4 separate regions of the Homo sapiens genome follow, and all the other regions are linked to region 4. Evidence: promoter capture Hi-C in human tissues and cell types (Jung and others, 2019). All regions are on one chromosome and are shown on one strand. The core of a region is centred on a gene start or on the middle of the fragment in contact, and the rest is flanking DNA. Distances in the headings are between cores, read along the strand shown.

What was found. Contacts are between HindIII fragments. The study calls those that stand out against the background at their distance.
Region 1: a contact is called between a fragment that was not itself captured here and the fragment with the promoter of ZFP64 in region 4, in 1 of the 25 tissues and cell types used here (dorsolateral prefrontal cortex).
Region 2: a contact is called between a fragment that was not itself captured here and the fragment with the promoter of ZFP64 in region 4, in 1 of the 25 tissues and cell types used here (pancreas).
Region 3: a fragment that was not itself captured here is called in contact with the fragment with the promoter of ZFP64 in region 4 in 1 of the 25 tissues and cell types used here (dorsolateral prefrontal cortex).

What each region holds. Positions count from the first base shown.
Region 1 is chr20:51,667,809-51,670,508 of GRCh38, reverse strand. ATP9A (ATPase phospholipid transporting 9A (putative)) reads left to right here. Exons shown (of 28, transcript NM_006045.3): 13 at 400-512. Among named protein-coding and RNA genes, the nearest start is that of ATP9A, 99 kb to the left of the region's middle. The HindIII fragment of the contact is 5,724 bases long and covers 1-2,700 here.
Region 2 is chr20:53,001,330-53,004,029 of GRCh38, reverse strand. The region is part of intron 1 of TSHZ2 (teashirt zinc finger homeobox 2); the gene reads right to left. Among named protein-coding and RNA genes, the nearest start is that of TSHZ2, 30 kb to the right of the region's middle. The HindIII fragment of the contact is 3,150 bases long and covers 1-2,700 here.
Region 3 is chr20:53,146,780-53,149,623 of GRCh38, reverse strand. All of the region lies in intron 1 of TSHZ2 (teashirt zinc finger homeobox 2), which reads right to left. Among named protein-coding and RNA genes, the nearest start is that of TSHZ2, 180 kb to the right of the region's middle. RefSeq lists a silencer at 208-408. The HindIII fragment of the contact is 3,082 bases long and covers 1-2,844 here.
Region 4 is chr20:52,190,450-52,193,149 of GRCh38, reverse strand. It overlaps ZFP64 (ZFP64 zinc finger protein), which reads left to right and starts at 1,371. Exons shown (of 6, transcript NM_018197.3): 1 at 1,371-1,559. The coding sequence starts at 1,514. RefSeq lists enhancers at 490-619, 1,660-2,516 and silencers at 1,030-1,299, 1,660-1,899. The HindIII fragment of the contact is 31,514 bases long and covers 1-2,700 here.

The DNA.
Region 1 (2,700 bases), core at 7-2,506, 520 kb after region 4:
CCTCCAGGTGGTCTCTGTAGGGCTCTGCCATTAGGGATGTATCTTTCTACTCAAGGGTCAGAATCCTTCGAGATAGAATCTGATTGCTCTAGTGTATGTCATTTGTCACCCTCTTGGCCAACGGAATGGGCCAGGCCCCTGATTGACAGTCCTCTTGGGCCACCTTAGGTAATGGGCATGGTGTGGTTAATTTCCCCTGGGAAAGCTAGGAAGCCATTTTCAAAAGGGGAATGGGATTCTAGGCAGGCAAAATGCTGCAGGTGTCTTCCCCAGCAGGGACAGTACTGACTGCAGTGTGTGACATAGGGCAAACTCTCCAAAGATGGCAGCTGTCATTACTGTTAATAATAACAAACATCCTGAGAGACAGGCCGGCCACTCATTTGTCTTGTGTTTTAGGCACTCTTACCCAGAACGAGATGATTTTCAAACGGCTCCATCTCGGAACAGTAGCCTACGGCCTCGACTCAATGGACGAAGTACAAAGCCACATTTTCAGCATTTACACCCAGGTAAAGCCTTCCATTTCAACACCCAAAACAATTCTTTGACTTTTTTTTTTTAACAGCTATATTGAGATGTAATTCACAATACCGTACAATTCACCCATTTCAAGAGTACAATTCATTGTTTTTTTTTAAGCATATTCAGAGTTGAGCAACTGTCACTGCAATCGATTTTATGTTTACCCCAAAAAGAAGCCCTCTACCCATCAGCAGTCACTCCCCAATACCTCCCTTCTATACCCATGACACCCACACTTCCTTTACACTTTGAATAAAATTGCATTTGGGGTCCTTCCCCATCTTCCCTATCTTCAGGGCTAATCTGCTCTGCTGAAGTGCTGATGGACATTAGGAAAAACCTGTGAGAAAATTATATGCCCAATAAATAGAACCAGAAGGAACCTGCTGGTTGATTATACTTCAAGTTTACGACCACGTTGATGTTTTCCCTTTCCCTGGCTATGACCCGGAGCACCAATAACAAATGGTCTGCTTGTGAAATAATCATGACGTTACTGATTACCTTTAGTTTCTCATCTACATTCAACTCAACAATCACGAGGAAGAAATTAGTTCATCAGAGATAACTTGCAGTTTATCTGTTCCTACCTTTATTTTTCCTACCAAGTTTCCCAAAACCAGTCACTTTTCAGAGAAAGTATTACTGGCAAATATCCTAATATTCCTAAAGTGTTAGACCGGTGGGTCCCCATCTTGGCTGTGTGTCAGAATTGCTGGTGGAGTTTCAAAACAACACAGAACAAAAACGAGACATTTATTTGGGCTTGATACCCTGGAGATTCTTACTCATTAAGACTTAGGGCAGGGCGTGGCTTTGGGTTTTAAAAGTAAGACAAACACACCCCTTGCTAATTCTGAGGCACATCCAAGGCTGAGCCAGACCGCGTTAGACCAGCTCCATGTTGCAGCACTTGTTTGGAGATAACAAGAGAATAAGGAGGTCATATTTTGCTTAAATTCGTCGAAATAGAGAACATTCCCATAGTCAGAAGACCAGTAAGAAATATGAATGAATTATCTCTGTATACAGGTTAAAGGCAGAATCCCTGAATACTTCTTGATACGGTCATAACTGACATTTAATTTTCTGGAACATTTGTCAGTGGGCTGGATTTCCAGGCTGTCTCCTGAAAATGGCAGAGCAGGGGACAGTGTGACAGTGGGAGTGGATGTTAAGTTAGAACAGCTGACTTGACACAGTTCTTGTCATCATCTACAACCAGCAACAAAGCCCTTGTTGCTGTTCCAGGCTCCATGGGGAGGCGTCATGGCTGGTCTCCAAATGGATCCATGGACCTTTTTCAAAGATGTACTTTAGCACTATTAAGAAATCACGAGGAACTTCCCTGGACAGGGAGGATGAGCCGCACAGCCCCCGTTTCCTTTCTGTCTCTTTGACCGTCTTCCTCTGTGTGGTGATTTGGGGTTGGTGTCTCTGGGGCTCGGTGCTGGACTCTGTTATGTTGTTCCCCGGATGGCCCCTCACCCTGCTTCCATCGCTCTGTGGATGCTGATGGCTCTGTCTCCATCTCCATCTCTAGGCCTGACCTGGAGCTTTGGATTATAACGTAGCCGAATGTTTGGCATTGCTGCATGTGGCTCATAAGGATGCTGTACCTGGGACCCCTCCTGACTTTCTTCCCTCATCTCCTAAACCTATTCTCTCCCAGGGCTGCTTGTCTTAGTGCACACCACGCCCTCCATCCTGGTACCCTCGTCACCCCAGCTGACAGCCACTGCCCCTTCTCCAGTACCTGCTCCCACCCGATCACTAGATCACCCCTTCGGCCTTTTTTTTTTTTTTCCTTCTCCCTTTCTTCCCTTCCTTTCCTTACCCTCCCTCCCCTCCCCCAGCCCCTCGCCCACTCCCAGCCCTTCCGCCCCCCCCCCCCCCCACCTCCCTTCCTTCTTTTGTAACAGGGTCTCACTCTGTCACCCAGGCTGGAGTGCAGTGGTGCAATCACAGCTCACTGCAGCCTCAAACTTCTGGGCTCAAGCAATCCTCCCATCTCAGCCTCCCAAGTAGCTCGGACTACAAGTGTGCACTGGGTATGCACCACCACACCTGGCTAATTTGGTTTATTTTTTATAGAGACGAGGTCTCACTGTGTTGCCCAGGCTGGACTTGAACTCCTGGGCTCAAGTGATCGCCTCACCTCCCAAAGGCTTCCCA
Region 2 (2,700 bases), core at 178-2,677, 810 kb before region 4:
TGATGAAAACAGGGCATCGAATATGAACTCCCCTGAACTTTCCACAGACACTGAAGCTTCTAGAACAGGATGCATACTGTCCATGTGGTATGAGTGTGCACAGCTTACGGAAAGAAATAATTAAAAAAAAAAAGAAAAAGAAAAAAAAGAAGGAAAGAGAAGGAAAGAAAGAATTGCTTGTGCAGCCAGGAAATATTTTGCTATGGACAGCACATCCCAGGTCCCCAAGATGAAATATTAATGTACAATTTGTTTATCTGTGGGCTCGCATCTTTCCAGCACTGAGCTGTTAATTTTCTATCAGCACAGACAACGGATCAGTCAGTCATGAACTCTTCACAGCCATTACCCGGAGACATTTTGATTAAGTATGCCTAATGTAGTGGATAGGGAAGAATGAAAACACTCTGCCTGCCAACTAGTGATTGACCATTAAGCCACTGATGAATGTGCCTGTCAGAGAGGAGACAATTACCTCAACAATGAAGAAACTCTTCTGGAAGGCTTATTTCTCCATAGGGCTGACACATTTTACCAGATTACAGGCGTGCCAGTTTGAAAGCGTGTAAGCCGATCACTAAGGAATCTTCTCAAAAGTTCACAGAGGGAAGGAGTAAAAAGAAGGGCCACAATTTTCTCAGGCCTGCTCATACCTCGAGCTTCCAAAATAAGATCCTGAGCTGTCCAGCGCTTGCGAGGAAGGTGCACTGACTTAATATTTAGGAAAAAATTTCACACACACACACACACACACACACACACACACACACACACCATCCCTGGAGAAAAACAGGAGGCTGATGAAATAAAATAGAACCCCAGGTAGACAGGCAGGATGTTTCTCCCCACAATGAAGGACAGTACCTGGACGGTGAACTAAATTTCATACTGGAAGTGCTTAGAAAAAGAATTTAGTTTTGACATTTTGTTATCTCTTAAGCTCGAGGCAGCTTTATTAGATAATGTATTTGTCCTTTAGTGTGTCTCTTATTATGTCTACAACGTAGAAGCACAATTTAGAGCTGTCCATTACATTATGAAGTCATTGGTTAGCAACTGGGAAGGAATCCCAGCTGTTCTCTCAAGTCCTAAGGTTTATGAAGCCTCATAATCAATAGGCCCTGGGAATGCAAGGTGATGGCCATTTCTTCAGAACATGAAGACTTAGGAATTAAAAAACTGAGATAACTGCTCACAGATAAACTTCTATTGATTTATTAATACACACGTCGTACCTGGAGAATGTGATAAAACTTATGTTCTTTAAAGCTTGCCCGTAGGTCCCAAATACTGTACTGGACATCCTTATACTAAACATTCTTTTATATTATCTGAAATTCAAATTTAACTGTGCATCCTGTTCTTTTTTATAAATTTATTTTTTATAAATAAAAATATTTATTTTCTTTTTTATAAATTTATTTTATTGCTAATTCTGGCAACATCACTTAAGAGGTAACATCAAAAGGTGGGTAAAAGCATAAGATTTCAAGCCAGAGAATGGAGGCTGTGGTTTGGGGCAGACCATGACCTCTCCTTGAGCCTTGGTTTATTTTTCAGGGTAATGGAAAGAATAATCATGCCAGCTTATTTGTTAGGAAGATGAAAAAAAGATAATGTATGACAGTTTCTTTCATTTTGTATTATTTTTAGATTGTGATTGGCTGATGGACGCTCCACAAAGTATGAAATTTACTCAGAGTTAAACCAGAAGGGTCGACAGCACGGGCTTGGAAGTCAGGTACCCCTGGCTAGGTAGATCAGCCTGGCCTCTAAGCAGCTGCAGAAGCTTGGCCGAGTCACCTGACTTCACTGTGTGCCTCTTTGTCATTTCTAACATGGATACCATTATGTCTCTTTACTGGGGTGAGAATTAAAATGCAAAAATTCACCCAAAGCCTGTGTGGCACAGAGTAAGTGTCCAATAAGTTCCGGCTCTCACTTGTACTACAATGAAGTGATGTGAGTTAAGGTGACAAAAGCAACCTTAGATTTTCCTCCCTGGGTTGGTTGTGTGCCTCACAATAGAGCCTGGTGAGTGTTGACAACTTCCGTTTTCTTTTTATACTTCCTTTAAGCCTTGATAAAAAGGTCACAATGATGTTCTTTAGTCCGTTCTCCATCAAAGCAGTGAAATATCATCCAAGCAGCTCAGGAACTCCGTTCTAGACAAGCCTTCTCAAAACCACAGCTATGCCACTATCAAACAATGATACTCTGTTTATGAAACTCAATAGGGAAGACATACGTAACGTTAAACCTTCCTGAAATGTCACACACTTTTAAACAAGTGTTTTAGTTGTGCATGTTTTACCTCTTTTCTTTCAAAATGAAACAGAAGACGAGGTGGGGCTTTATTTAGTCTGGGGCAAAAGAAAAAGTTTCATCCAGCAGAGTTTAGCTCCCCTGTCAGATGATAAATGAGACAGGTGATTTTTTCGCTTCCTTATTCTTGAAAAAGCTAGCAATGGTGAGAAACAATCATCTTTAGGTCTGAGTGAAGCAAGGGGTCTTCCTTTCTCCTATTTTCCTTTCATCCTCTACCTAGCATTATTTCTTCTCGAATGTGTTTTTAACACTAGTTGTTCAAACAGGTCATGAATCCTTTCTCCTTCCTTGATATACATTTTGACTGTTGCCAGAAACTACCTTTGATGTGTTCCTGTAGAGAATAACACAGGCTTTCCTGTTTGTCTCAGA
Region 3 (2,844 bases), core at 64-2,563, 960 kb before region 4:
CTGTTACGGTCTCCTCATTGGCACCATGAGCTGAGCGGAAATCTCTGAAGGACTTATTTAGCATGCACACACTAGAACTGAACTAAAGCAGATCCTTGCATTGGCAGCTCAAGAACTTTAAATGCCCCTGGCAGAAACTCCTCCTCTCTTTCCTCCCCCTCTTTCTCTCACTCCCTTTTGATGTTCTCTCTTTCTTTTAGCCTATCGTTGACAGTAAGTGCAATCACATTACACACAGCTTTCTTTGGAAAGCCCCCTTTTTAATGATCTGGCAGACACTGAGCCCTTCCAGAAAAAAAATTTCAATCCCTCTTCCCACAGCTTCCGCAAGCCCCAGTGACAAATGACACCTGTCATTCTGTCACAGACAAGCAGCACAGACAGGGATGTCAGTGATGTATGGCTCACCAGCAGAGGAAATCAACTTTAAAAAAAAAAAAAAAACCCTAAAAGAGCTGACCAGTACATTGTCAGGATCCTGCTCCCAAGGCCTCGCCTAACAGACAGACTGGAAGAGAGACAGAAAAAGTTTCAGCTTGAGGGGGAAGAATGTATAAGATCAAAACACAGAAATATTTATCTACGGAGAAACTGGCATCAAGTAAGCCACAGATTGCTTTGCATTGTTTATTTCTTTGCAGTGCTCTGGATATTAGCCAAATTCTCACCTCCTCCTGTGATTTATGGAGGAAAAGGTTGATTCCTGCTCTGTGAGAATTCTCTTTCTGGAGCCTCTGAAAAAAAGTGAGTCAACCCGAGCTTTGTTTGTTAAGCCTAAATTACCCCATTTTACACTGAGTCCAATGAAAAGCAATAAAATTTCCAATAACCCCCAAGGGATTCCCTCCATACAAAGACTGTACCCTGAAGATTAATAACCTGCCTTTTATGTTGATGGCAATCTCAGAAAAGATTGGGAGATGTCTTCATTTTCTTTATCTATATATTTTTTCTATTTTGTATCAACCCCCACCCCATGATCCATACATATTGAATGCAAAAACTTTTTTTTTCTTTCAATCAAAACCACTGCACTTAGATCCACTTGGGGTCCTGATTTAATAGGCAAACTCAGCCACATTCTCAAATTGAATATGAGCATCTACAGGGTGTCAGGCCTGTACTATATCCAGAACAAGAAATTAAGAAATAGAAAGCAAAATTCTTCCTATGCAGGATTTCTCATCTTCAACACTATTGAGGTTCGAAGCTGGATCACTCTGTGTGGTGGGCGGTGTCCTGTGCACTGTGGGAAGCTTAGCAGCAACTCTCGCCTCTACACGCTAGATGCTAACAGCTTCCCCACCCTAGTTGTTTCAATAAAAAGTGTCCCAGACAATGCAGAATGTGCCCTGAGAAATGAAGTTGCCCCAGTTGAGAACCACTGTTCTAGACATTTGAGATCAAATCCCCAAAGAGAAATAACATTCATGTGATCAATTGAAGTTCGTAGATAATTAAACACTAAATAGTACGATATAGAAAATATTAGCTGTAGGAATTTAGAGACTTTCCAAAAGACACATTTGTATTTATCAGGTTTGTGCAAATGCCTCTATTTTAAGCTGTGTAACAACAACACAAATCTTGTTATAAGACATAGACCCACTGGCCGGGCATGGTGGCTCACGCCTGTAATCCCAGCACTTTAGGTGGCTGAGGCGGGCAGATCGCAAGGTCAGGAATTCAAACCAGCCTGACCAACATGGTGAAACCCCAGCTCTACTAAAAATACAAAAGTTAGCCAGGCGTGGTGGTGCATGCCTATAATCCCAACTACTCAGGAGGCTGAGGCAGGAGAGTCACTTGAACCCAGGAGGTGGAGGTTGCAGTGAGCAGAGATGGCACCACTGCACACCAGACTGGGCAACAGAATGAGACTCTGTCTCAAAACAAAACAAAACAAAACAAAATAGACCCACCACTTATTTTATGCATGTCTTATGCATAGATATGATGGAACTGAATATTGGTTTAAAACAAACAAAAAGAAATCTTAGTCTCACACAAATCACATTAATACCACAGTGATATGGCAACCAACAATCAAAAATTTCTTTTCTAATGATATTATGACATGACATTATTAAAGCTTTGAAAAATATTGAATTAGTATTCATTAAACAATATTATTAAATCTTTGTGAACATTTAAGTTTCTAGACTGGATTGAAGAAGGTAGGACTACAATTAAACTTTTGTGTCTATGCCTTTTTTGTAGATGATAGCACAAAACTGTTAACATACAAATCTTCAAAATGGAGTTTATACAGAGATATTAAAGACATTCTTTGACCTACTGAAAGAAAAGGGGATGAAAAGAAAGCTGAGCCCAGTTTCCAGGCACCATGTATAATATCTAAGGTTGTCACCCATCAATTGTCACTAAAAGAGATCAAAGTTAATTTAGAAGAGACAGATAGATTTATCCATGTATAAAGCCAATAATGAGAGTCACATGAGGAAACAAAAAATATGTAATAAGCTGAGTTGAGATCACAAAGAATAAAAAACAAAAAGCATGTAATTAATACATTGGGCACAAAATCAACCTTAGCATCAAAATGGAAGAAGAAGACATCAATGAATTAAGAATTACAGGCCACTGAAATGTAGCTATTCCCATCAACTGAAAAAATAACATCAAATGCTTTATAAATACTAACTGGTTAATCTTCAGAATTATAAGGTCAATGGTTCAGGTGGTTGTTGCAGTTATTAATACGGGTCCTGAAACTACTTTCATAAAGATCTTAAAAATGAGAGTACCTATCCTTCACGCCCGCCTCGCTCCTCTACCTCCCTGCAAATCAGCTGGTGGAATTTGTTCCTCACTGTATTGGTT
Region 4 (2,700 bases), core at 122-2,621:
GATACATAATATGTTCCATCTAACACCTTTTAAGGACAAAGCAGGCCAGGCATGGTGGCTTACACCTGTAACCCCAGCACTTTGGGAGGCTGATGGAGGATCGCTTGAGGCCAGGAATTCGAGACCAGCCTGGGCAACATCTCTACAAAAATAAAAATTAAAAAGTGAGCCAGGGTGGTGGCCCACGCCTGTAGGGGGGATTGCTTGAGCCCAGGAGTTGGAGGCTGCAATGAGCTAGGATCCGACCACTCTTCCAGCCTGAGAGACAGAGAAAGACCCCCTCTCTAAAAAAAGAAAGGGAGAAAGAGAGAGAGGCAGAGAGAGAGAAAGAAAGAAAAGAAAAGAAAAGAAAAGAAAAGAAAAGAAAAGAAAAGAAAAGAAAAGAAAAGAAAAGAAAAAGAAAAAGAAAAAAACAGGAAGGAGACAGGGAGTGGTTGGGGGAGGAGGAGGGGGCTGCAATATTAGAATGATTAGATTAGGCCAAGCATGGCCTCCCTGAGTGTGAATTTGAATGCTGACCTTCAGAAGCAGGACAGACTCTATGGGCAAATCCCTCGAGGCTGGGAGAGGTCTGAGGCTTGGGAGGGTCGGCAGAGAGACAATAGGGCTGACGCAGGAGCCCGGGGGAGACAGTAGTAGTAAGACATGAGGGACAGAGCAGAGAGGTCACTGTCCTCAGAGTGTGGACGCCGACCAACACTAGGGGCATCACCTGGGAACTTAGAAATGCTCGTTCTCACGCCTCGCCCCAGACCTACTGAAGCAGAAACGCTAGGGTGGGCCCAACAGCGTGTGTTCTAACAAGCCTTTCAGGCGACTGCGATGCACGATAAAGTTGGCAGCTCCTGGAGCAGGGGTCCCTCCGCGCTACGACCCCACCTCTTCGCGGTCCTCTCAGTCTCCCTAGCGGGGCAAGGGACCCGCCCAGCGCTTTGCTGATTTGCCCAGCGCTCACGCCCAACCTGGGTTTCTCCGGAGCTCGCCGCGCCCCGCGCACCCACCCCGCAACGGCAGCCGCACGTGGGTCTCCCCGCAAACCACCCAGGCGTCCCGGGAGCAGCGCTGCTGCACGGCCGCGCTGGGGGCCCAACGCCTGGGGTTGCAGGTGCAAAAGGCGCCCCGAGCCGGGGAGGCCAATCGCGTCCGCGGAGAACGCAGAGTGCGGGCAGGGGCGCATCCCTCGCCACCCGCGGTCGCCCAGCACGCCGGGACGCGCGTGGCCATCCAGCTCCCCGGGGGCGTTGGGGGGCTCCGCGGGCCTGGGCCTCGGGATTCGCCCGCCGCTTCCCCGGGGAGCCGCTGCTGCAAAGCCAGGTTGGGGCGCCGGGCCCGGCCAGCGCCCTCTAGGCAGCGGAAGTGCAGCTTGCTTTACATCCGTCCTCCCCGCCTCGCAGAGTTGGGAGAAGGCAGGGTGGGGGGTGTGGAAAAATAAAAGGAAAAGTCCTTGCACCATGTAGATCAGCGTCCCCCACTTTGGCATCCCGGCCGGCCGGGGACCTCCCAGTCTGCGGCCATGAACGCGAGCAGCGAGGGCGAGAGCTTCGCGGGCTCGGTGCAAAGTAAGTGCTTTTCCGGGAGCAGTGCGCGCTCCGGGGCCCAGTGCGCGCTCCGGGGCCCGGGCCCAAGCACGTCTGCGACGCAGCCAGCAGGCCCGGGGCCCCGAAATCGGGGTGACGGCTCGGAGCCGCGTCTCGGGGACCGCGGCGGGCGCGCTGTGCAGGGGGCGCCGGAGTGGGCTTGGGGTGGGGGCGCACCCGACCTGGCGCAAGACCGGGGGCGCTCTCCAGCCTTGCGAGACCCCTTGGAAGGGAACAGTGGGGGAGGGCACGCCGTTCAGACAATCGCCACCCCCTAAGGGCATTCCCGCCCCATCAGGCGGAGTTTGGGGCGGGCAGGAGAAAGGGAGGAATCTAGGGTAAACGGGGCAACACTGATGGGAAAACTTCTGCCTCAGTGGCTCAAAATTAGAGCCTGGAGATTGGGGGAATCACCAGGTCTCACGAGGTCCTGCCGGCTCATTGCAAAGCCTTTTCCTCATTAAGGGTGGAGATCTGAATGGAAAACGGGGCCGTGGTCGCTTTATTTGGGTTTGGGGTTCAGTTTTTATTTAACCGAGGAGGACATCAGCGTTTTTCAAGTCCCTGGTTTCTCCCGGTGCATTGTTTCCCAAAGTGTGGTCCAGAGACTGAGTGCAACCAGCCACCTGGGAGCGAGAGCGTGTATTTTAAAACAGCTTTCTGGGCCCCACCCATTCAATCTCGGGGGTGGGGCTGGGGATCCGCTGTCCTTCGTAGCTGCCTGGGCAACTCTGAAGCACATGAAGTTTGAGAACCCATCTACCAGGGGTTTGCAGAAAATCTGGCACATAGTAAGCTCCCAGCTTGTTAGCTGCTACTGTTAACAGTTTGGGAGACACTGGGTCCCAAACTTGGCGGTGTATTCCTTGCATTACTGTGAAAAGCACAGATTTTCCTAAACACCATCCTCCCCACCCCACCCTGTTATGACTCAGTATCTCCTAGGTGGGGCTCAGATATGTCCATGTTTAAATAGTGTACCTCAGTAAGAACCCAGCAGGTAACATGCTGGGGGACTGGCGGGGAGGGGGGACTGTGCTGGTACGAGCACCATCCCATTTAATTCTCATAACAAGCCCGTGTTTTTTCTTGGAGAAATTAAAAACAAACAAAAACCATGGAT